Linked DNA regions of Homo sapiens: regions 2, 3, 4, 5, 6 and 7 are each linked to region 1. Evidence: promoter capture Hi-C in 16 types of primary human blood cells and fetal thymus (Javierre and others, 2016). All regions are on one chromosome and are shown on one strand. The core of a region is centred on a gene start or on the middle of the fragment in contact, and the rest is flanking DNA. Distances in the headings are between cores, read along the strand shown.

Region 1 (3,148 bases), core at 36-2,535:
ACAGTACATTCTAATCAGTCTTTGTTCTAAGTACAAAGAATTTATTTGCAATAGCCTTTAACATATGGAATCTGAATTCACACAGGTCTACTCAGCAAGAAATAATTTGGATTCCCAACAACTCAAGAATAAGAAATGGGGCCCTCTCTAGTGTCTTGCCTATTTTTTACAGAAAAGTAGACGGCGAGACAGGGGTTCTAAAAACTGTTCCATTCCTAGGCACAGTGCATGAGGTAATTATGTCAACTCTCAGTAAAAGCATAAAAAAAAGAATGACCTGCCCATTACAGGGATATAGCAAAGGAACTGGAAACACTAAGTCTATCACTTACTTGGCCTACCTGCATGTGAATATAAAATACCATGTAATAATTATTTGACAGTAGATTAGAAACTAACTCCCATGTTTAAACTCGCTAAAACTCAGCTTCACTAATTTCCAGCTCTGACAAATGTGATTTTCATTGTCAGGAGCCACATGGGCCGCTGCTGGAAAGCGCTCAATGCATCCTTCCGAAATCTGACAGAGCAACCCCTTCATTAACACTTCTGAATGAGCTCCTTGTGTTTCTCTCAGTATCTGGTGCGAAAACCTCGGAACAGAAAAGCAGTAGTAACAGTAGCATAAAAAGAAAAAAAAAAGGAATAAAAAATAAAATGTTGGTTCCCACCTAACTTCACATTTGTCTTCAACTGAGTATTTCGTGTTTTGCGTCTGAGATTTTGGGGGGAGTAGTGGTGAATGTGAATTTCGGAGGGGCGAGAGGGAGGGTTCGGAAGCCTTTGGTGGCGACCGGCCAGGATCCACCTCAGTGACGAAGAACCAAAGTTCAGAGGATCCGCCGGGCAGGGCAGGGCCGGGTGGCGGTTGGCTAAGGGAGGAGAGGGCCTCAACGCTGGGCGGCGAGGCGAGGGCTCGGCGAGGCCCCCAAGCGGGGCCGCGGGACTGAGGAAGCTGTCCCTGCGGGGAGGTAAAGGGCAGCGGAGGAGCAGCAGCATCTCGGGAGAATGAAAGGCCCGCAAGGCTGAGCCGATCCTCAGGCGCCCTGAGCAGCAGCGACCGAACGGGGCGCCGGGCGGGGTAGGGAGCGGCGACGCCTCATACCTGGATGAGCACTTTCACGTACATGAGCGGCTGGGACAGGATGGTGAGACCGGAGCCCAGGAGCACCTGACTGGCCGCGTCCGCCATGATGGCACCCGCGGGCGGACGGACAGACAGACGGAGCCACCAAGCGACCCGGTGAGCCGGTCCTAGGTCACGTGCCAGGGCCGCCGGTTTCACTGGCCCGCCCGCGGCGCGCGCGCACGCACGCAGCAGCACGCGCCTCTCCGCCCAGTCCCCGCCCCCCCGTCCCGCCCCGAGAAACGGCAGGCGCTCGCGAGGGGGCGCTGAGGTCGGGGCGGGGCTTAAGGGACAGAGGCGCATGCGTTCTGCCGGGGGCTCGCCCTTCACCAGGAATGACGGTTTCTCTTGCACATGCGCTTCCAGGCCGCAAGTGTCCGGAAACAGAAGAATGGGAGTGTCAGTGGGGGAGTGTGACCGTGACGGCAGAGGCAAGGTCAGAGGACTGAAAAGAAATTGAAAAGGATTCTTCATTATGCTTCATCTCTGCACTTGCCTTTTGGGCATCATCAACATAGGATTCAAAAGATACTCAGCATCAGAGCCGTAACAGTCTCGTGACTGACAAACTCTAAATAAGTATAGCAAATAATGAATCCGCTAGCGAGTGGCTTTTCATTCATTTATTCGTTTGATTAATGTTATCTTTTCAAAAAAACCTTCTCTGACCATTCTAAAATTACCTCCCCCTTTTCTTTTTCTTTCTTTTTTTTTTTTTTTTTGAGACGGAGTCTCGCTCTGTCACCCAGGCTGGAGTGCAGTGGCCCGATCTCAGCTCACTGCAACCTTCGCCTCCCAGGTTCAAGCAATGCTCCTGCCTCAGCCTCCCTAGTAGCTGGGATTACACGCACACGCCACCACGCCCGGCTAATTTTTGTCTATTTAGTAGAGACGGGGTTTCACGATGTTGGCCGGGCTGGTCTCAAACTCCTGACCTCGTGATTCACCCGCCTTGGCCTCCCAAAGTGCTGGGATTACAGGAGTGAGGAGCCATCGCGCCTGGCCACCTCCCTCTTATTTTCTCCCACATTGTGCCCCGTCGTAGCATTATCACTGAAATTATGTCTCCTCCACTGGAATGAAAGCTCCATGAGTTCAGGAACCGTGACAGCCTCTGTTCACGGTTGTGTTTTCAGTGCCCAGCACATACGAGGTGCTCAATAAATATTTATTGCACAAGTGAACAAATACTTCAGTGCCTACCAGTCTACAGGCTATCAGAGGCAAAAGTGAAAAAGGCATTGTCCCTGCTCCTTCAGCCCCAGCTCACGTGTTCTATCAAACAACATTTGGTGAATCTGAGCTTGGAGCAGAGTGAAGTACTGTAGGGGAAAGACTTGGATTTGGATCCTGGCTTTTCCACTGCATCCATTTGTCATTTTAGCTACTTTAATTTCCAGTTTTTGTATCTAAATCTAACACTACTGTGTATCTCTCAGGGTTATTATGAGCATTAAGTGAAATTATGCATAGGAAAGGGTTTTTTTTAAAAAACTTTATATTGAAATACAGATATTGGCTGGGCACGGTGGCTCACACCTGTAATCCCAACACTTTAGAAGGCTGAGGTGGGTGGATCACCTGAGGTCGGGAGTTCAAGACCAGCCTGACCGACATGGTGAAACCCCATCTGTACTAAAAGTACAAAAATTAGTTGGGTGTGATGGCGGGTGCCTGTAATCCCAGCTACTCGGGAGGCTGAGGCAGGAGAATCGCTTGAACTCGGGAGTTGGAGGTTGCAGTGAGCCAAGATTGCGCCATTGCACTCCAGCCTGGGTGACAGGGCGAGACTCAGTCTCAAAAGAATAAATAAATAAAAAATAAAGTTGTAAGAAACAAGTTGCTTCTAACTGAATCTAGAAACATAAAGCTGAGCCAGAGAGACTATTTAGCAGGGGATTCTTTTCTTTTTTTTTTTGAGACAGGGTCTCTCTTTGTCACCCAGGCTGGAGTGCAGTGGTGCAATCTCGGCTCACTGCAACCTCCACCTCCTGGGCTCAAGCGATCCTCCTACCTTAGTCT
Region 2 (3,138 bases), core at 417-2,916, 490 kb after region 1:
CCGAAAAGGGATGTATCCTCAGCACATAGCTTCATGAACTTTTACAAACTGAACACATCTTGTTACCAGCACCCATATAAAAAAACTGAATGTGATTTCCACTTCAGATGACCCCTTGAAGGGCTTTTTTTTTTTTTTTTTTTTTGAGATGGAGTTTCGCTCTTGTTGCCCAGGCTGGAGTGCGATGGCGCGATCTTGGCTCACTGCAACCTCTGCCTTCCGGGTTCAAGTGATTCTCCTGCCTCAGCCTCCCAAGTAGCTGGGACTACAGGCATGCACCACCACGCCCGGCTAATTTTGTACTTTTTTTGATAGAGACGGGGTTTCTCCATGCTGGTCAGGCTGGTCTCAAACTCCCGACTTCAGGTGATCCGCCTGCCTTGGCTGCCCAAAGTGCTGGGATTACAGGCGTGATCCACCGCGCCTGGCCTTTTTTTTTTTTTTTTTTTTTTTGAGACAGAGCCTCATTCTGTCGCCCAGGCTGGAGTGCAGTGGTGTGATATCGGCTCACTGCAACCTCTGCCTTCTGGGTTCAAGCGACTCTTGTGCCCCAGCCTCCCGAGTAGCTGGGATTACAGGCGTGTACCACCACACCCAACTAATTTTTGTATTTTTAGTAGAGATGGGTTTTCACCATGTTGGCCAGGCTAGTCTCGAACCTCTGACCTCAAGTGATCCATCTCGGCTTCCCAAAATGTTGGGATTACAGGCATGAGCCATTGCACCCAGCCTAAGGGCTCATTTTTAAGACAACAACAAAAAACTGGAGAACTGGTAAGATAAACTGGGAAGTTCATGTGCGTCACAGAAGAGCTGAAATTCTTGAGAGCACTGAGTGTGTGCATTTCTCAGCTCGATTTTGGAGTGTGCCTTTTGTGAACTCATTAGAAAGCGTAATGGCAAAAGAGCAGGTCCTCTCGACAGCACTTGGAGAGGAAGCTGGGCGTCATGATAGTAACAGTTTTCCCTTCTCCTTCCTTTCTTCTGAGCAGTTCCCAGTGCAGTGTTTGACATCCACGTGGTCTACGTCACCACCACGGAGATGTGGCTGGACTGGAAGAGCCCTGACGGTGCTTCCGAGTATGTCTACCATTTAGTCATAGAGTCCAAGCATGGCTCTAACCACACAAGCACGTATGACAAAGCGATTACTCTCCAGGGCCTGATTCCGGGCACCTTATATAACATCACCATCTCTCCAGAAGTGGACCACGTCTGGGGGGACCCCAACTCCACTGCACAGTACACACGTAAGTCTCTTAGGATGCCCTTCTAAGGAACAGCCTCTCTAACTGTCTCTTGGAGGAGGCACTGGTTAAATGATGGCCAGTGTGCTTCTGGGATCCAGGTTGACTCTGAAACTGCTGAAGTTGAAAACATTGGTCTCAGCAATGGTTCTGCTGTCACCATGGGGCACTGTTCTTCAAGCTATGTGAACTTAGAATTGTCATTAGAAGGAAGAAATGATTCCTTGGGAATGGTGACTGAAATGGTTCTAGTCATTCCTTGAGAATACAGAGTAGAGAAGGGTCACCTTGTCATGTTGGTATTGGAAGATACTGCCCAGATGAGGAGCTTCGCCTGCAACAGTTAGGGAGGTGTTTTGCGAATATTTGAATTAAATACATGGTAAAGATGTTAGTTTGTAATATGTTTTTAGTATATTTTTCTCCATCTATTAGATTTAAAAAACAGATTAGAAATTAAATGTTAAAAATATATTTGAAATAAACTTGAAGTATTAAAAGAAGCCTAAATTAAACTTCTTTTGAGACTTAATCTGTATAATTATTTTCTTGATGTGTTTTTGGGAAGTTTTCCATCTTTTGAGCCAGCAAATACTAGTTTTATTCATTCTTTCTAAAACGAGCCAGGCTATTTTTGGATATAGTAAATAGTCCTGGAATTCTACTTAATCTGTGCTTTTACATGAATTGCCTTTTTTTTAAAATCAAGGGCCCAGCAATGTGTCCAACATTGATGTAAGTACCAACACCACAGCAGCAACTTTAAGTTGGCAGAACTTTGATGACGCCTCTCCCACGTACTCCTACTGCCTTCTTATTGAGAAGGCTGGAAATTCCAGCAACGCAACACAAGTAGTCACGGACATTGGAATTACTGACGCTACAGTCACTGAATTAATACCTGGCTCATCATACACAGTGGAGATCTTTGCACAAGTAGGGGATGGGATCAAGTCACTGGAACCTGGCCGGAAGTCATTCTGTACAGGTGAGTGTAGCCCCAACTGCCTCTTGGACTCCTCCCTGAGTGGTGCTGACCTTGCAGGTCAGTCCTCCCAAGTCTGTAGTTTGTCTGGTTTTGTGTGATGTGCAGTGATGGACATTGAGCTTTCCGAGGCATCCTGTTAGCTTATCGGTGCTGTCTCGATGCCCTCATCATTTCTGCATTCAATAAATATTTATTGAGCATATACCATATGCCAGTCAAGTCCTTGCCTTCTTGGAACTTTTCGAAGGAGGAAGTGGGATGTTTACCTAGAGTGCTCAGGAAAGGCCTCAATGACAAGGTGACTTTTGAGCAAAGATCTGAATGAAGGGAAGGAGCCAGCCATGTGGATATCAGGGCATGAGAACATTACAGGCAGAGGCCTGTGCAGAGGGGCCTGTGCAGCATCACCACTGTATCTGGAGGCTGGAGGAAGAGCAGGAGGCAAGGGTGGGAGGAGTGGACCCGCAGGAACAGGAGGATATAGGTGGGAGGTGAGGCCTGAGTGGGGCTGAGCCAGGATGTGGATGATATCTGGCATTGGTTTGTCTTTTGTGCTGGAGAAGATGAAAAGTTTATTGAAATGATGCCCAGCCTTTGCATCCTTCTTGATCCTCACCTATCTCACAACTGAAAATGTGTGATAAAGAGAAGAGCCCTCTGTGTAATTGAGGATGCTTTCAGGGCAGCCCAGGAAAGGCTTTGCAGACAGTGGTGGGCACTTCTGCTCACAGTGCTGACTGTGGCACCTTTATCACTCAGCACCCGTGCACTACTCATTTTCTGCCCTTCTCGCTCCTACCTCTTCCCTTTTTAGCCCAGGCCATTCAGATATGTTCAGGCTGATTTGGAAGTGATGGTCTCATGGGATCAGCCTCCCTGGTAGTATAGGAGCTCCAGCCTTGA
Region 3 (2,938 bases), core at 109-2,608, 380 kb before region 1:
CTGGCCTCCTCTCTTATCTGTGGCCCCCGCAGGGCACCCACTTTCAGAAACTCCCTGGAAGGCCCAGCACCTGCCTCTCTCCACCCCTGGATTTCTACCAGCTTGGCTGAGGCCTGGGGCTAGTGGGGAGAGCTTCTTGGCCTCTTCCCAGAGGCAAGGGAGGAGGAGGGAGGCTGGGAAAGCCGCTGGGGCTCAGTGTCGCAATTCCGGGCCGTGCTGGGACCTTTGCTCCACGAGGTGCCTATGGAGGGGAGGGAACACGATTCTGGAGGCTGCTGGGATTGGGGTGGGGGTTCCTGGGAGGCAGTCCTTTTGCAAGAGCTGCTAAGAGCGCTGGGTAAGGAGAGGAAGGGGAGAGACATGGAACTTGGCTGGTCTGCAGGGAAATGCCACTGTTTTGGCCGGGAGTAGGGGGCGGGAGTGGCGGGAGAGGGGGTGGCCGGCTGGGGAGGAGCCAGCCTGGTGGAGAAGCTGCCCTGTGGGCGGGGGTGAGGAGGGGAGGGCTGTGGTCACCAGGCAGGAAGGAGGGGTGGCCTGACCCCTCGGCAGTCCCTCCCCTCAGCCTTTCCCCAAATTGCTACTTCTCTGGGGCTCCAGGTCCTGCTTGTGCTCAGCTCCAGCTCACTGGCTGGCCACCGAGACTTCTGGACAGGAAACTGCACCATCCTCTTCTCCCAGCAAGGGGGCTCCAGAGACTGCCCACCCAGGAAGTCTGGTGGCCTGGGGATTTGGTGGGTCTGCTCCTTAGCAGTGGCCTGGGGCTCTGTGTGTGTATCTGGGGTGGGGTCGGGGAATGTCCTAAGGATCTGAGAAGGGGGTTTCTGGGGAGAAGTGAGGGGTGATGGTGATGGAAGCTTGGGACAGGAGCAGGACTCTGGGTCCCAGAATAACTCATGAGGGGCTCAGGGGAGGAGGTCCTCTATGTGAATTGGGGAGATTCTTGGAGACAGGTTTGTGCTGGGACCCTGGAAAGTGGCACGAGCGAGGTTCTCTAATAAGCAGCGTGTTTCACTGGGTGGAGTGAGCTGTCCTCAGTGTTGGAGTGAGGGGGAAGGGGCCCAAGAGAAGCAGGGCAGATGCACCCAAACATTCCCTGCTGGCCTGGAGGGGACTTTGGGGGAGAAAAGCCGGCACGGTGGCTGGGAGCCCAGACTTTGGAGTCAGAGGAGGGTTGGAGTCTTGACTCTACCGCCGCCTAACTGTGTGACCATAGTTACTTAATCTCTTTGAACCTCAGTTTGCTTATCTGTAAAATGAGTTTAAGAATAGTCCTGAGCCAGGAGCAGTAGCGTGCGCCCATAATCTCAGATACTCAGGAAGCTGAAACCTGATTGCTTCAGCCCAGTAGTTTGAGGCGATAGTGTCCTATTATTGCACCTGTGAATAGCACTGAGTTCCAGCCTGGGCAACATAGAGAGACCCCATCTCAAAAAAAAAATTAATAGTTTTGACCTCAGAGGGATATTATGAGGAAAGCACATAAAGCCTTATAACAGGCTGGGCGCAGTGGCTTACTCCAATAATCCCCACACTTTGGGAGGCCCAGGTGAGAGGATCACTTGAGCCCAGGAATTCCTAGACTAGCCTGGGCAAAATAGGGAGAACCTGTCTCTAAAAAACATAATAGTAATATAATAAAGCCTTAGTACAGGCTAATATATGGCAAGTAAATGTTAGCTGATATTGTTGATATTGATAAAAGGGAGGATCAGGTGGAGAAGGGAGCTGAGGCCAGAAAGGAGCCCAGTTCTAGAAGAGTATAATCTGGGTCCTTCCTGCAGGACAGTGCCTTGGTAATGACCAGGGCTCCAGGAAGAGATGTCCTTGTGGCTGGGGGCCCCTGTGCCTGACATTCCTCCTGGTAAGCTTCATTCCATCCCTCTCCCCTGAGCCCAGACCGCAGGCTCCACGCCTCCTGTAGGAATCAGCCTCCTTCATTACCTGCCTTCTTCCTTCCTCCAGAGAGCAGTCCAGAGTCATTCTTAGTCGTGCTTGCCTCCCGCCCAGATCACCTCTCCCCTGGTTCCAGTGCCTGGCCCTTGCAGGCACCCGCCCAGTCCTCCCCAGTCTGGATTTGCTGCTAGAGAGTTGGCCAGCTGAGTGCTTACCCTGCTCTGGCTTTGAAGAGTTTTATCTGATCTCTGAAATGCATACACTCCAGCCCCCCAAAGGGACAAGGATTAACATCTTCATTTAAGGTCCTGAGATGTAAGAAACTACAAGTGACTAGTCCTAGCTAGAGCCCACACAGACTCTAGGGTCCCAAAGCCTGAGCTGGGACTTTGCTGCCCTCTAAGGGTGGGGATAAGTTTGCAGTTTCCCAGCTAGGACGCTGGGCCGTGGAGCCGGGATGGGGCCTGAGACCCCCTTGTGCCTCTCTTTTGGAGCTCAGACTCTGCGGTGGAGCTGTGGAAGCCAGGCGCACAGGATGCAAGCAGCCAGGCCCAGGGAGGCAGCAGCTGCATCCTCAGAGAGGAAGCCAGGATGCCCCACTCTGCTGGGGGTACTGCAGGGGTGGGGCTGGAGGCTGCAGAGCCCACAGCCCTGCTCACCAGGGCAGAGCCCCCTTCAGAACCCACAGGTGAGGAGCTTCTGGGTTTGGAGGAGGTAGGGGTCCAGATTCCAGGTCCTGGATCTGGAAGAGGTTCCTTGGGGGTTTTTACTTTATATATAATCTCATGGTTAAGTTCAGAGGCTTTAGAGCTAACTAAATCTGACTGATCTAAGTGTGAATTTTGTCTCTAGGCCTTTCTGAGCCTCACTTTCCTTGTTTATAAAATGGAAATAAAAATTATGGTTGTCATAAGGATCAGTGCATATAAAAGGCTCATACAGTACCTAGAACATAATGGCACTTGGCAAATGAGGGCTACTCTTCTCATAAAAGAGAGACTGGAGTTTGTATAATGAAGGGAATGAAGGTCACTGAGTGCCCAGG
Region 4 (2,837 bases), core at 316-2,815, 460 kb before region 1:
CCCCCACCCCTTCCCTCTCTCTGGCCCCAGAACAGAGCAAGCTGTGTGTACCGGGCTGGCACAGCTCCCTCCGGCCTCCCAGAGCAAACACAGGCCCAAGCCCCGGGTGCAGCCAGGCCCCACAGCCCCAGCCTGACCTCTCAGCAAGCAAGCAAGGAGGGCTTGCACCTTGGCCCCCATTGAGCAGGTTGGCACCCTGTGCCTCCTGAGCTCAGCAGAGACCCAAATCAGTCCCCACCGCAGGCAAGAGCTCAGAAAGCAGGTAATGCAATCTTCCCAGCCCCGGGAGCCAGCACGTTCGGCTCCGAGAGGTCTTCCTGGGCTTGGCAGGGTCTCCTTGCAGCTGCACGGGCCAAGGTAGGAAGTCCCTGGTTCAGGGAAGACCCAGTCTCCCTACCTGAGGCCTGAAGGTACCCGGCCCCAGACCAGCCCCAACCTCTTCCAGAAGCTGGGGGCTTGCCCCTGGGAGGGAGCTCAGCCATTCTGCCTGGCCCATCCCTGGAACCTGAGTCACAGGCTGCGCCCAAGGGCTTCTTTCCCGGGCAGCCCCTCCCGGTGCGCCCGCAGCTCTAGGATTTGAGGACAGAGCGGGGGGGAGGGGAGGGGGCGTCAGTAGGCTGGTCCGAAGAGGGACAGCGAGGTTAGAGGGGCTGGAACCAGAAGCCAGAGCCAGCCAGGAGATCAGGAGGCTGGGGGAGGGGGTGGCGCAGCCAAAGCGGGAGGAGGCAGGGCCAGGGAGGGGCATAACAAAGGGGCACTTTTGGAAACCCGACCTGCCGGCCGGGGTGCCTGCTTCCAGATGACGCACTCCGAACCCCAGCCTCCACTCCAGAGCTCGGCGCCCAGAGGCTACGCGCCTCTGGCCTCAACCCTTATGGACCGCGCCCCTCGACAGGACCCCTTGCCGCCCGGAGCTGCATAACTCGGAGCCCGTGGAGCCACGCGGAGCGGCAGGGCCAGGCCTAGCCACCGAAGCTCTAGACTTCTTGGCCAAACTTGTTGAACTTGGTCTTGGCGGGGGTGGGGCCACTGATCACCGCCAAGGGGAGGGGACGCCCCCTGCCTGGGCCGGCCTTGCCGTGGGCTCCAGATGGTGGCCCCGGGCAGCGGACCCAGGAATCGGGGCTCGCTGCATAGGGCGAGGGATCGCCAGGGAGCGAGGACCCTCTGGGGCCTCGGGGCGGGCGCGAGGCGAGCGGACGGGGGCCCTCGAGGGGCCCCTGAAGACGGCTCAGCCCTCCAGCGCCGGCGCCGCCTCCCCCGGGCGGCCTGCGGAATTGCGAAGCCCGCGGCACCGCAGATGGGACGGCCCCTCGGCGCGGCTACGGCCCTTCCCGTCGGCACGCAGAGCGGGGTGGCCGGGGGCTCCCTGGGCGGGAGTCGGCTCCATTGCAAACTTCAGAAGCCGGAGCAGGAGAGGGCGGGCTCGAGCCACCGCACCCGCCGCCGCCTACCCGCGCGTCCCCTCCAGGGCACTCACCGCGTCCTCCCTGGGCCCCTCGGCGGGTGGGGGTCCGGCCACGCTCCGGCCCGAGTCCTGCCGCTCCTGGGCCCGCGCCGCGGCCTCCCGGAGCGCGCCGGGCCCTCCCCCGGGAAGCCCGGCCCCCGGCCCCCGGCCCCGCCCCTCTCCTGGCCGCCGCTGCCTCAACCCCACGCGGCGGGGCAGCGGGGCTGCAGGCATCGCGGCGACCAGCGGCTCTTGTGGCGCGGGTCGAGGTTTCTCTGCTTCGCCCGTGTGCGGAGTGCCTGGGCGGGCTCCCCAGGGTTGCGCCCCGGTGCCGCAGGGAGCCAGATTTCGGCTTTGCCTCTCCCGGACCGTTGCAGAGCCTGGGAGACCCGAGGGAGCAAGAAGGGACCGGGCCGGCACGGGCAGCCTTGGAGAGGGGCCGGGGGAATTACACTGCCTTACATTTTTAGCTGCACAGCTTGTTTAGAAATTGGCTCAGGCGAGGCTCACAACCACCCCTTGTAAGCATTAGGATTCCCACTGTACAGATGCAAAAACTGAGGCTCGGGGGCTTTTCAGAGGCTTGCCCAAGATTTCCCTCTAGTCAGGCAGGGCTGGGACTCCAAAACCGTGCCCTACCGTTCCACAGCTGCCCTGCTAATCTGGGGCGCCTTCTAAGGCCTGAGACGAACACGCGGTGGGGGTGGGACAAAAAGGCCTAAGCTCCTCCCGCTCCGAGTTCTTATTTCCAGATTTTGTACCACGATTCATTCTTACCCTTCGCCCCTCCACCCCCTTTATCAGTCTGGTACATTTTTCCATATCGCCACGATGCCACCCCACGCTAAATAAATCCCTTCTCCCTCCTCTCTCCCTACTTCCCTCTCCCCGCTTTCCCCCGGGGGTGAGATTTTGCAGAGCGGCTCCGTCTGTTATTTATATCCACTGGAGCGGTCCAAGAATGTTCCGAAGCTGACCTAATCGCCACCTGCTCGGCCTCTCCGCCCCTCCCACTCTCTCCTGGGCCCGGTGACCCAGCGGCGGTGCCCTGAGCCTTGAAGACCAGGGGGAGCGCGGACCAACGGGGTCGAACGCCCGGGCGCAGAAGGTCCCGGACGCAGAAGGTCCCGGGCGCGCAGAATCGCAGCGGGTCGGAGAGCCCCGGCGCTCTCAGAGGAGTGCGCCCCCAGGGACGCGGCTCTGAGCCCTGGGAAGCTGAGGCGCCTGGCTGCGCCCTCTGAAGCTCGTACTTTTCCTCCCACCCTCAGCTCCCTGAAGAGTGTGAGTGCGTGCGCGCGGAGTTTTAAACGGCAGCTTTAAAAATAGCAAAATTATGTTGTTTCTAAATCCAGGAGGAATCACTGACGCGTTCTTTACGCAGATGAATCCG
Region 5 (3,230 bases), core at 38-2,537, 470 kb after region 1:
GCAATGGAGAATTTGTGGCTTGTAAAGCCTGAAATATTTATTCTGTGGCCCTTACAGAAAAACATTGCTGATACCTGGGTTAGATAATTGATTCTAAAACTGTGGTTCAGAGATCTCTAGGGGTCTCCTAGATTCTTTCAAGGTATTTCTGGGTATTGTTTTCATAATACTACTAACATGTTATTTGGCTTCTTTACTCTCATTTTATCATGAGTGTACAGTGGAGTCTTGCAGATTCTATATGATTTGGGATGACACTGTCACTCTTACAGCTAATGGAATGTATGCTTTCATATTGTTTAAAAAACTTTATCTTTTTTATTTCTAATACAGTATGGTAAATATTAATCAATATAACCCATATAAACAAAAATTCTCCGGGAGCCTTAATAATTTTTAAGAAGTTAAAAGGGCCCTGAGACCACAGTGTTTAAGAATTACTTGTCTAAAAGCATTGTAAATTATTTAACTGCTCCCCTGTTGTTGGGAAGGTAGATTATTTATTTATAATTTTTCATAAAAAACATTGTGATACAATAGTTTTGTTAGTTCTAGAAGTATTGATAAAATCACATACACAGTTAAAATAAGTCATTGAATTATTTCTAGGGTAATATGAGAAACTTTTAGAAATTCCTAAGGGGCTGGGCACAGTGGCTCATGCCTGTAATCACAGCACTTTGGGAGGCTAAGGTGGGTGATCACCTGAGGTCAGGAGTTCAAGGCCAGCCTGGCCAACATGGCAAAACCCCGTCTCTGTTAAAAATACAAAAATTAGCCGGGTGTGGTCATGCATGCCTGTAATCCCAGCTACTCGGGAGGCTGAGGCAGGAGAATTGCTTGAACCCAGGAGGCAGAGGTTGCAGTGAGTGGAGATGGTGCCACTGCACTCCCGACAGAGTGAGACTCTGTCTCAAAAAAAAAAAAAAAAAAAAAAAAAAAAAGAAAAATTCCTAGCAAGCTTATGTTAATTATTGTTACAAAAATTTGGGCTTAGAGGTTGGGACCATACCAGATGGTCTTCCCAGAAATCACTGGACAGGCTTACTGTTGAAGGGCATTTCCAGAGGAAGCCAATCTACAATGATTGGAATAAGAACCTACTTCTTCAAATATACAGACATCAACACAGAGTCACAAGGATCAAGAATAATCAGGGAAACGTGATATTACCAGAGAAACAAAATAAAGTGCAAGTGGTTGACCATAAAGAGATGGGAGATGTATGAACTGTCTGACAGAGAATTCAAAATACATGTTTTAAGGAAGCCTAGCAAACTTTAAGAAAATACAGATAAAGAATTCAAAGAAATGAGGAAAACAATAAGTGACTAGATTGAGATATTTAACAGAGAAGCAAACAGAAATTCTGAAGCTAAAAAATACTTTGAACAAAATGAAAAATGTAATAGAGAGCACCAAGAGTAGAACTGATCAAGTAGAAGAAATAATCCTTGAACTTGAAGACAGATTATTTGAAAATATACAGAGGAGGAAAAATAAAAAAGTGGATAAAAAGGAATGAAGAATGCCTATAGGATTTATGCAACAGCATCAAAAGACGTGGTATTTGAATTGGAGTTCATCTAGGGGAAGAGAAAGATAAAGAGGTAGAAAGCTTATTTAAAGAAATAGTAGCAGAAAACTCTCCAAACCTGGAGAAAGATATAAATATCCAGGTACAGGAAGGACAAATGACTCCAATCAGAGTCAATTCAAACAAGACTACTCCAGAACATAATCACACTGTCAAACATCACAGACAATGGGGATTTGGAAAGCAAAAAGAGAAAAGAAGCAAATAACATGTAAGGGAGCTCCACTTCAGCTAGCAGCAGACTTCTCAGCAGAAACTTACAGGCCAGGAGAGAGTGGGATGATATATTCACCATGCTGAGGGAAAACAACCTGCCAACCAAGATTGCTATACCCAGCAGAACTGGCCATCAAAAATGAAGGCAAGATAAAAGACTTTACCAGAGAAACAAAAGCTGAGGGAGTTCATCACCACTAGACATGTCTTATAAGAAATGCTAAAGAGAGTTTTTAAGCTGAAAGAAAAGGACACTAGTGATTAATTGAAAACATATGAAAGGATAAGACTAGTAAAATAAATACACAGTCAAATTCAGAATACATGAATACTGTAATGGTCATACATATCTTTAATATGAAAGTTAAAAGATAATACTTAAAAAATAATAACTACAATAACTTGCAGGGGGGATATGCAATATAAAAAGATGTAAATGGTGACATAAACAATTCATAATATGAGTGGGGAATGGACTAGAAGTGTAGAGGTCAATTTGTGTGTGTGATCAAAGTTGTCATCAGCATAAAATAACCTGTTATAACTATAAGATTCTTTTTATAAGCCTCATGGTAACCACAAAGAAGAACCTTTAGTAGATACACAAAAAATAAAAAGCAAGGAATCAAAACATACTACTAGAGAATATCACTTAACCTCAAAGGAAGATAGTAAGAGAGGACGGAAGGAACAAAGAGTCTATAAAACAACCAAATGGCAGTAGTAAGTTCTTACCTATCAATAATAACCTTGAAAGTAAAGGGTTTAAATTCTCCAATCAAAAGACATAGAGTGCGTGAATGGGTTAAAAAAAAAAACCGATCTCAATAGTATGCTGTCTACAAGAGACTCACCTCACCTGCAAGGACATGCCTAGACTGAAAGTGAAGGGATGGAAAAAGATACTCCATGCTAATGGAAATCTAAAGAGTGGCAGGAGTAGCTATACTTATGTCAGATAAAATAGACTTTAAGTTCAAAACTTTTAATGGAGACAACAAACATCATTTTATAATGATAAAGGGATCAATTCATCAAGAGGTCTTAACAATTATAAATATATATGCACCCAGCATTGGAATGCCTAAATATATAAAGCAAATATTAATGGATCTGAATGGACAGATTGACTGCAATGCATTCATAGTAGAGGACTTCCACCACCTTACTTCCAGCAATGGACAATGATCCAGACAGGAAATCAATAAGGAAGCATCAGACTTAAACTACAGTTTAGACCAAATGGATGTATCAGACATATACAGAACATTCCATCCAACAGCTGTAGAATACACACTTTTCAACTGCACCTGGAACATTCTCCAGGTAGATCATATGTTAGACCACAAAACAAGTGTTAACAGATTTAAGAAGTGTGAAATCATATCAAGTATCTTTTCTGATGATGGCATCAAAC
Region 6 (3,044 bases), core at 473-2,972, 350 kb before region 1:
GCTACTTTCTCTTTGGAGGCTGCTCTGAGTCTCAGGTCAGCATGGTTCTCATGGTGGAGATGTTTACCATCATAGGTGTGTGTATACGAGATTTCACCCAGAGCTTCTCATCTTATAAAGAAGGTACTTCCAGAGGCTATCTGACACACTTTTGAAATTTAATACTTTTTTATGGTGGCAGGGAGCTCTAACAGCTTGGTATTTCTGGGGCCCATCCCTGGGGACTGTCTCTTACTACCTTTTTTCCTTTCCAGGTGAGTAATAGCTCTGGAGAGACCCTTGGAGCTGACAGTGACTTGAGCAGCAATGCAGGTGATGGACCAGGTGGCGAGGGCAGTGTTCACCTGGCAAGCTCTCGGGGCACTTTGTCTGATAGTGAAATTGAGACCAACTCTGCCACAAGCACCATCTTTGTAAGCTTTGTTTATTAACAAAAGAAAACCATTTCTTTAATGGGGGAGGGAAGCAGGCAAGAAAAGAATGAAAGTTAAGAGACGCTAAAGAGGTAAAGGTTAAATAAGGAAGAGGTAATCTTCTTATATTTGGCTTTAAGGAAAACATTTCTTAAGGCTTTGTTCAGAGTCATTTGACTCACAATCTGGGGCTTTTAGAACCCTCTCCTGAATCATTGATGAGTTAGGCTCCGTGCCCAGTCACGTAAGGGCTTTGAATCCTATGTAGTATTAACCCCCAGGTTTAACACAGGCAAAGTAATACCTTTGTGGCAATGTCAGGACAATTACAGCTCTCGTTTAGTACCAGTCTGCCTATTTCTATGGACTATCCAGTTTTATTTTGGTCACTGCTCTATTTATAAATAAAATAGCATTTTATTTTAGTATATTCCTAACAGTTATTTGAAGTTTTCATTCATTAATAAACATCCATGAAGTGATTTACTAAGTGCCAGATTTTGTGCTAAAGAAACAGGGATGAAAAAGGCATGGTTTCTACTCAAGAAGTTTGTGATTCACTATATTGCTGTGAGTAGTCTCTTCTAATAGGTGAGGGGAACAATGCCTTAGGAAAAAAGAACTTCCCTAGATCACACAGTAAGCCCATGATCAGCTGGAAGGAGATGAATTCTTTTTAGTCCTTGCCGTAGACATCTGTTTTTTGTTGTTTTTTTTTTTTTTTTTTTTTACACAGGGTCTCACTCTGTTGCCCAGGCTGGAGTGTAGTGGCACAGTCACTGCTCAACTGCTCACTGCAGCTTTGACCTGTTAGGCTCAAGTGATCCTCCCACCTCAGCCTCCCAAGTAGCTGGGACTGCAGGCATACACCACCATGCCTGGCTAATTTTTTAGTTTTTTGTAGAGATGGGGTTTCCCTCTGTTGTCTAGGCCAGTCTCAAACTCCTGGGTTAAGTGAGCCTCCTGCCTTGGCCTCTTAAAGTGGCATGAGCCACTGTGCCCAGCCTCTGCTTTTTAATGTGTATGTGCCTCTATAGGCTGTGTTAAAACACTGATAGACTTGTTACTTTATTAAACAGAGATGAGAATGGATGTTCTCTACAAGAGCTTATACGCATAGGTCCTTATCTTTAAGGCCTATGGGGAGAAAGGAAGATAAAAGTTAAATGAAACCAACTATTTAAAACTGGTTATCATTCCCACCCCCAGAGCCTTCTGTATGTGTGTTTTTAATAGAGTCAGTGACCTCCCAGAGTGGAGATTGGGAATAGGACTGAGAGGCTACTCAAGTTAATGGGCCTTAACTCTCTCTCAGTCTGAACAGACTGATTGGCTGATTGAGTGATTGATTTTTCTTTTGTGCTGACAGTTTATTAGGGGTTTTCTTTTCTTTTCTTTTTTTTTTTTTTGAGATGGAGTCTCGCTGTGTCACCCAGGCTGGAGTGCAGTGGTGCGATCTCGGCTCACGGCAAGCTCCGCCTCCTGGGTTCACACTCTTCTCTTGCCTCAGCCTCCCAAGTAGCTGGGACTACGGGTGCCCGCCACCACGCCCAGCTAATTTTTTGTATTTTTAGTGGAGATGGGGTTTCACCATGTTAGCCAGGACGGTCTTGATCTCCTGACTTCGTGATCTGCTCGCCTTGGCCTACCAAAGTGCTGGGATTACAGGCGTGAGCCACTGCTCCCGGCCAAGGGTTTTCAATAATGTTTTCTTTTCTTTTCTTTCTTTCTTTCTTTTTTTTTTTTTTTTTGAGATAGAATCTTGCTCTGTCGCCCAGGCTGGAGTGCAGTGGCGCGATCTCTGCTCACTGCAATCTCCACCTCCCAGGTTCACACCATTCTCCTTCCTCAGCCTCCCGAGTAGCTGGGACTACAGGCGCCCACCACCATGCCCGGCTAATTTTTTGTATTTTTAGGAGAGATGGGGTTTCACCGTGTTAGCCAGGATGGTATCAATCTCCTGACCTTGTGATCTGCCCACCTCGGCCTCCCAAAATGCTGGGATTACAGGCATGAGCCACCGCGCCCGGCCTTCTTTACATATTAGTTCAACCTTCACCACAAAATCTAACCATGGATCGTAAAAATTAAATTGGCAACGGGGCTAGCCTGCTATACTTCCTGTTTACTTTTAGATGCTTTTCAAACCAATAAGGATGACATTTGTGGTGGAAGGAGCCAGAGTAATAGGAAAATTACTTCTCTTCGCTTAGAAGAAAATCCTCCACCTTGAGCATCTTCTGAACTTTTTACTATAAGACATCTCAGTGCTTGCTTGTACTCTTCAGCCGCATAACTGTGAAGATAGCAACCATCAGTTTCTCATAAATGGAAGCGGCAGTGAGAACCGTCTACAGCAGTTTGGCTTCAAGGCCTGTGTAGAGGCCCATTATTCCAAAACACCTGTTAGCCATTTGTATGTCTTCTTTTGAGAGAGATCTATTCAGCTCATTTGCCCATTTTTAAATAGATTATTTGTGTTTTTTTGCTGTTGAGTTTTTTCTTTCTTGTATATTCTGGCTATTAATCCCTTGTCAGATGAATAGTTTGTAAATATTTTCTCCCATTCTGCAGACTGTCTCTTCACTCATTTCATCGTGTCCTTTGTTGTGTAGAAGCTTTTTAGTTTAA
Region 7 (3,008 bases), core at 4-2,503, 360 kb before region 1:
AGTGCTGGTCCTCAATCCTTTGTCATAACTTATTTGTCTACAAAATCTGACTGATTTGAACTGATCTGGTGGCAAGGCTTATGCTATTTTAGTTTTCATTTATCACAACAAATGTTAATGACTGTAGGCCACTGGCTACACTGCAGCAGGTGTTACGTGTGTTACGTAATACAGTAGTTCCTCCTTATCTGTGGAGGACACATTCCAAGACCCACCAGTGGATGCCTCAAACCACAGATAGTTCCAAACTCTATAGATACTTTGTTTTTTTCTATACATATATACCGGTGATACCGTTTAATTTATGAATTAGACACAGTAAGAGAGTAACAGTTTTCTCTTTGGGCATATATTTGGTGTTTTTTGGAGACAGAGTCTCCCTCTATCCCCCAGGCTGGAGTACAGTGGCACAATCTCGGCCCACTGGAGCCTCTGCCTTCCAGGTTCAAGTGATTCTCCTGCTTCAGCCTCCCTAGTAGCTGGGATTACAGGCACTGCCACCACCACACACCAAATAATTTTTTGTATTTTTAGTAGAGGCGGGGTTTCACCATGTTGGCTGGGCTGGTCTTGAACTCTTGACCTTAGGTGATCCGCCTGCCTCAGCCTCCCAAAGTGCTGGGATTACAGGCATGAGCCACCGTGCCCAGCCTCTTTCTACATATATTTGGCTTCTCTTTGGCATATCCCAATTGCCAGCATCAGTACCCTTGTGCTTTGGGGCCATTATTAAGTAAAATAAGGGTTACTTGAACACAAACGCTGAGATTGTGTGACAGTTGATCTGATAACCGAGATGGCTACAGGCTGGACACAGGGGTGATTCATGTCTGGGTGGGACAGAGCGGGACAGCATGAGATTTCATCATGCTTCTCAGAACTATTGTCCTGCACTTCAGATATGATCAAGCTGCAGTTTAAAATTTATGAATTGTTTATTTCTGGAATTTTCCTTTTAATATTTTCAGACTACAGTTTGCCTCAGTTAACTGGAATCACAGAAAGTGAAACTGTGGATAAGAAAGACTACTGTATACAAAAAAATGTACCATGTTACCTTTCAAAAAATCTGAAAAATTCTGAATTTTCAAATACATCTGGCCTCAAGAGTTTTGGAAGAGGGATTGTATCTGCATTTCCTTATCTAGAAGAATCCAGACTTGATAAGTGCTCATGATAGGTTTTGTCTTTGTTTCTCACCTTCTTTATCATTTCCACAGCTGCTGTTGGCTCCAACCCCGTACATCATTGGGGTTCCTGCCAGCTTCTTCCTCTACAAACTGGACTTCAAAATGCCTGATGATGTATGGCTAGTGGATCTGGACAGCAATAGGGTGAGGTTCTTGGCTGAGGCATTGTAGAGTCTAGAGGAGGATTGCATTCTAGACCCAGTCCTGAGATATCTGTTTCTAGATTCCTTTCAGGAACGTCCTAAGTTGTTGGATAATTTCTATTGCGAGACTTACTGAAACAAGTTTTTTTAAATGCTCCTTTTACCTTATTAGCCAAATAAACCCTTGGTTAGGTCTCAGAGAATTACAGGATTTATTTTTGCCAGAATTAAGTGACCCCCCACCATATCCTCCAAGAGCAGTCAGACAGTTGTGATCTGAGGGCCATTACATGTGGTATAGATCATCTCTTAATGGTTTCCCTGGGGTATAGTTTCCAGTAAGAAACTGTCTTTCAGTGCAGGCTTAATTAATTATATGACCATTCTGCAATGTGAATACATTCAGACTTTGGTGGGAAGCCCTTATGTGTGCTCATTGTAAAACTTAAAAAAAATAAAAATAAGCGTAAATAAAATAAGTGAAAAGAAAAACCATAATCCTTTTATCTAGAGATAATAACCAATAACATTAAGTTATATTTCATTTCAGATGCATATGTATGTCATATATGTGTGTACATATATCTTACTGTGCAGTTATATAATGTATATTCGTTTATATAATAATAATGTATATACGTCCTCTTATTTTTATTTATGTAAGTGAAATTCCTGAGCAATAAACTCTAAGGTCACGTCTTTTATCATTTCTCTGGTGCAGGTGATTGCCCCCACCAATGCAGAAGTGCTGCCTATCCTGCCAGAACCAGAATCACTAGAGCTGAAAAAGCATTTAAAGCAGGTAGGTGAAGAACGAAGGAAAGAAAGGGGAGTATTAGATGCTGTGGGATTCCTATAAGAAGACAGCTATTCTCAGAGCCAATTTCCTATCAAACTTCAAGTGGAGTAGTTTTCTTCACCCTGGATGGGCTTAAGAAAACGCGTATCCCATTTCTGGGTGGCAGAGTGAATTTCTGTTTTTGATTCCAATTCATTGTATGCTTTACCATCTTCTAATGCTTATGATGCTGTATAAAATAGCCCTTCACTCTCTGTTTCTTGTATGTGTGCCACTCTCTATGGCTTCAGAACATTTTCTCAGTCTTTTTTTTTTTTTTTTTTTGAGATGTGGAGTCTTGCTCTGTCCCCTAGGCTGGAGTGCAGTGGCGCGATCTCGGCTCACTGCAAGCTCTGCCTTCTGAGTTCACGCCATTCTTCTGCCTCTCCAGGAGCTGGGACTATAGGCGCACGCCGCCACACCCGGCTAATTTTTTTGTATTTTTGGTAGAGACGGGGTTTTGCCATGTTAGCCAGGATGGCCTCTATCTCCTGACCTCATGATCCGCCTGCCTCAGCCTCCCGAAGTGCTGGGATTACAGGCGTGAGCCACTGCGCCCGGCCGATTTTCTCAGTCTTGTTAGGTGGAAGTTAGTAGTGTGGACCGTCTGGCTGCTTTTATATTATCTTCTAGAGTTGATCCTGAGGGTTCCTTTCTTCAAAAATTCCTTTATTTGGCTGGGCACGGTGCCTCATGCCTGTAATCCCAGCACTTTGGGAGGCCGAGGCAGGTGAATCACGAGGTCAGGAGTTGAAGACCAGCCTGGCCATTATGTTGAAACCCTGTCTCTACTAAAAATACAAAAATTAGCCGGGCATGGTGGTGGACGCCCGTAGT

The links. Contacts are between HindIII fragments. The CHiCAGO score rates a contact against its expected background, and 5 or more counts as called.
Region 2: a fragment that was not itself captured here is called in contact with the fragment with the promoter of MTCH2 in region 1 in 1 of 17 cell types (naive B cells); the score reaches 5.3 in naive B cells.
Region 3: a contact is called between a fragment that was not itself captured here and the fragment with the promoter of MTCH2 in region 1, in 1 of 17 cell types (neutrophils). The highest score is 5.8, in neutrophils.
Region 4: the fragment with the promoter of PACSIN3 here is called in contact with the fragment with the promoter of MTCH2 in region 1 in 1 of 17 cell types (neutrophils); the score reaches 6.2 in neutrophils.
Region 5: a contact is called between a fragment that was not itself captured here and the fragment with the promoter of MTCH2 in region 1, in 3 of 17 cell types (total B cells, naive B cells and activated CD4 T cells). The highest score is 12.8, in total B cells.
Region 6: a contact is called between a fragment that was not itself captured here and the fragment with the promoter of MTCH2 in region 1, in 4 of 17 cell types (monocytes, M2 macrophages, M0 macrophages and 1 more). The highest score is 8.5, in monocytes.
Region 7: a fragment that was not itself captured here is called in contact with the fragment with the promoter of MTCH2 in region 1 in 1 of 17 cell types (neutrophils); the score reaches 5.5 in neutrophils.

What each region holds. Positions count from the first base shown.
Region 1 is chr11:47,641,274-47,644,421 of GRCh38, forward strand. MTCH2 (mitochondrial carrier 2) reads right to left here and starts at 1,286. Exons shown (of 13, transcript NM_014342.4): 1 at 1,106-1,286. The coding sequence starts at 1,192. RefSeq lists a silencer at 1,207-1,476. The HindIII fragment of the contact is 6,217 bases long and covers 1-3,148 here.
Region 2 is chr11:48,135,047-48,138,184 of GRCh38, forward strand. PTPRJ (protein tyrosine phosphatase receptor type J) reads left to right here. Exons shown (of 25, transcript NM_002843.4): 9 at 993-1,250; 10 at 1,957-2,235. Among named protein-coding and RNA genes, the nearest start is that of MIR3161, 40 kb to the left of the region's middle. The HindIII fragment of the contact is 7,863 bases long and covers 1-3,138 here.
Region 3 is chr11:47,257,399-47,260,336 of GRCh38, forward strand. It overlaps NR1H3 (nuclear receptor subfamily 1 group H member 3), which reads left to right and starts at 598. Exons shown (of 10, transcript NM_005693.4): 1 at 598-731; 2 at 1,782-1,861; 3 at 2,393-2,581. The coding sequence starts at 1,819. RefSeq lists an enhancer at 2,038-2,606. The HindIII fragment of the contact is 1,012 bases long and covers 853-1,864 here.
Region 4 is chr11:47,184,869-47,187,705 of GRCh38, forward strand. PACSIN3 (protein kinase C and casein kinase substrate in neurons 3) reads right to left here and starts at 1,566. Exons shown (of 11, transcript NM_016223.5): 1 at 1,481-1,566. RefSeq lists silencers at 1,195-1,514, 1,565-1,664 and an enhancer at 1,336-2,222. The HindIII fragment of the contact is 15,006 bases long and covers 1-2,837 here.
Region 5 is chr11:48,113,515-48,116,744 of GRCh38, forward strand. All of the region lies in intron 3 of PTPRJ (protein tyrosine phosphatase receptor type J), which reads left to right. Among named protein-coding and RNA genes, the nearest start is that of MIR3161, 18 kb to the left of the region's middle. The HindIII fragment of the contact is 657 bases long and covers 960-1,616 here.
Region 6 is chr11:47,295,643-47,298,686 of GRCh38, forward strand. It overlaps MADD (MAP kinase activating death domain), which reads left to right. Exons shown (of 37, transcript NM_001376571.1): 24 at 255-413. Among named protein-coding and RNA genes, the nearest start is that of MADD-AS1, 25 kb to the left of the region's middle. The HindIII fragment of the contact is 2,613 bases long and covers 417-3,029 here.
Region 7 is chr11:47,276,945-47,279,952 of GRCh38, forward strand. MADD (MAP kinase activating death domain) reads left to right here. Exons shown (of 37, transcript NM_001376571.1): 6 at 1,221-1,334; 7 at 2,055-2,135. Among named protein-coding and RNA genes, the nearest start is that of MADD-AS1, 6.3 kb to the left of the region's middle. The HindIII fragment of the contact is 3,970 bases long and covers 1-3,008 here.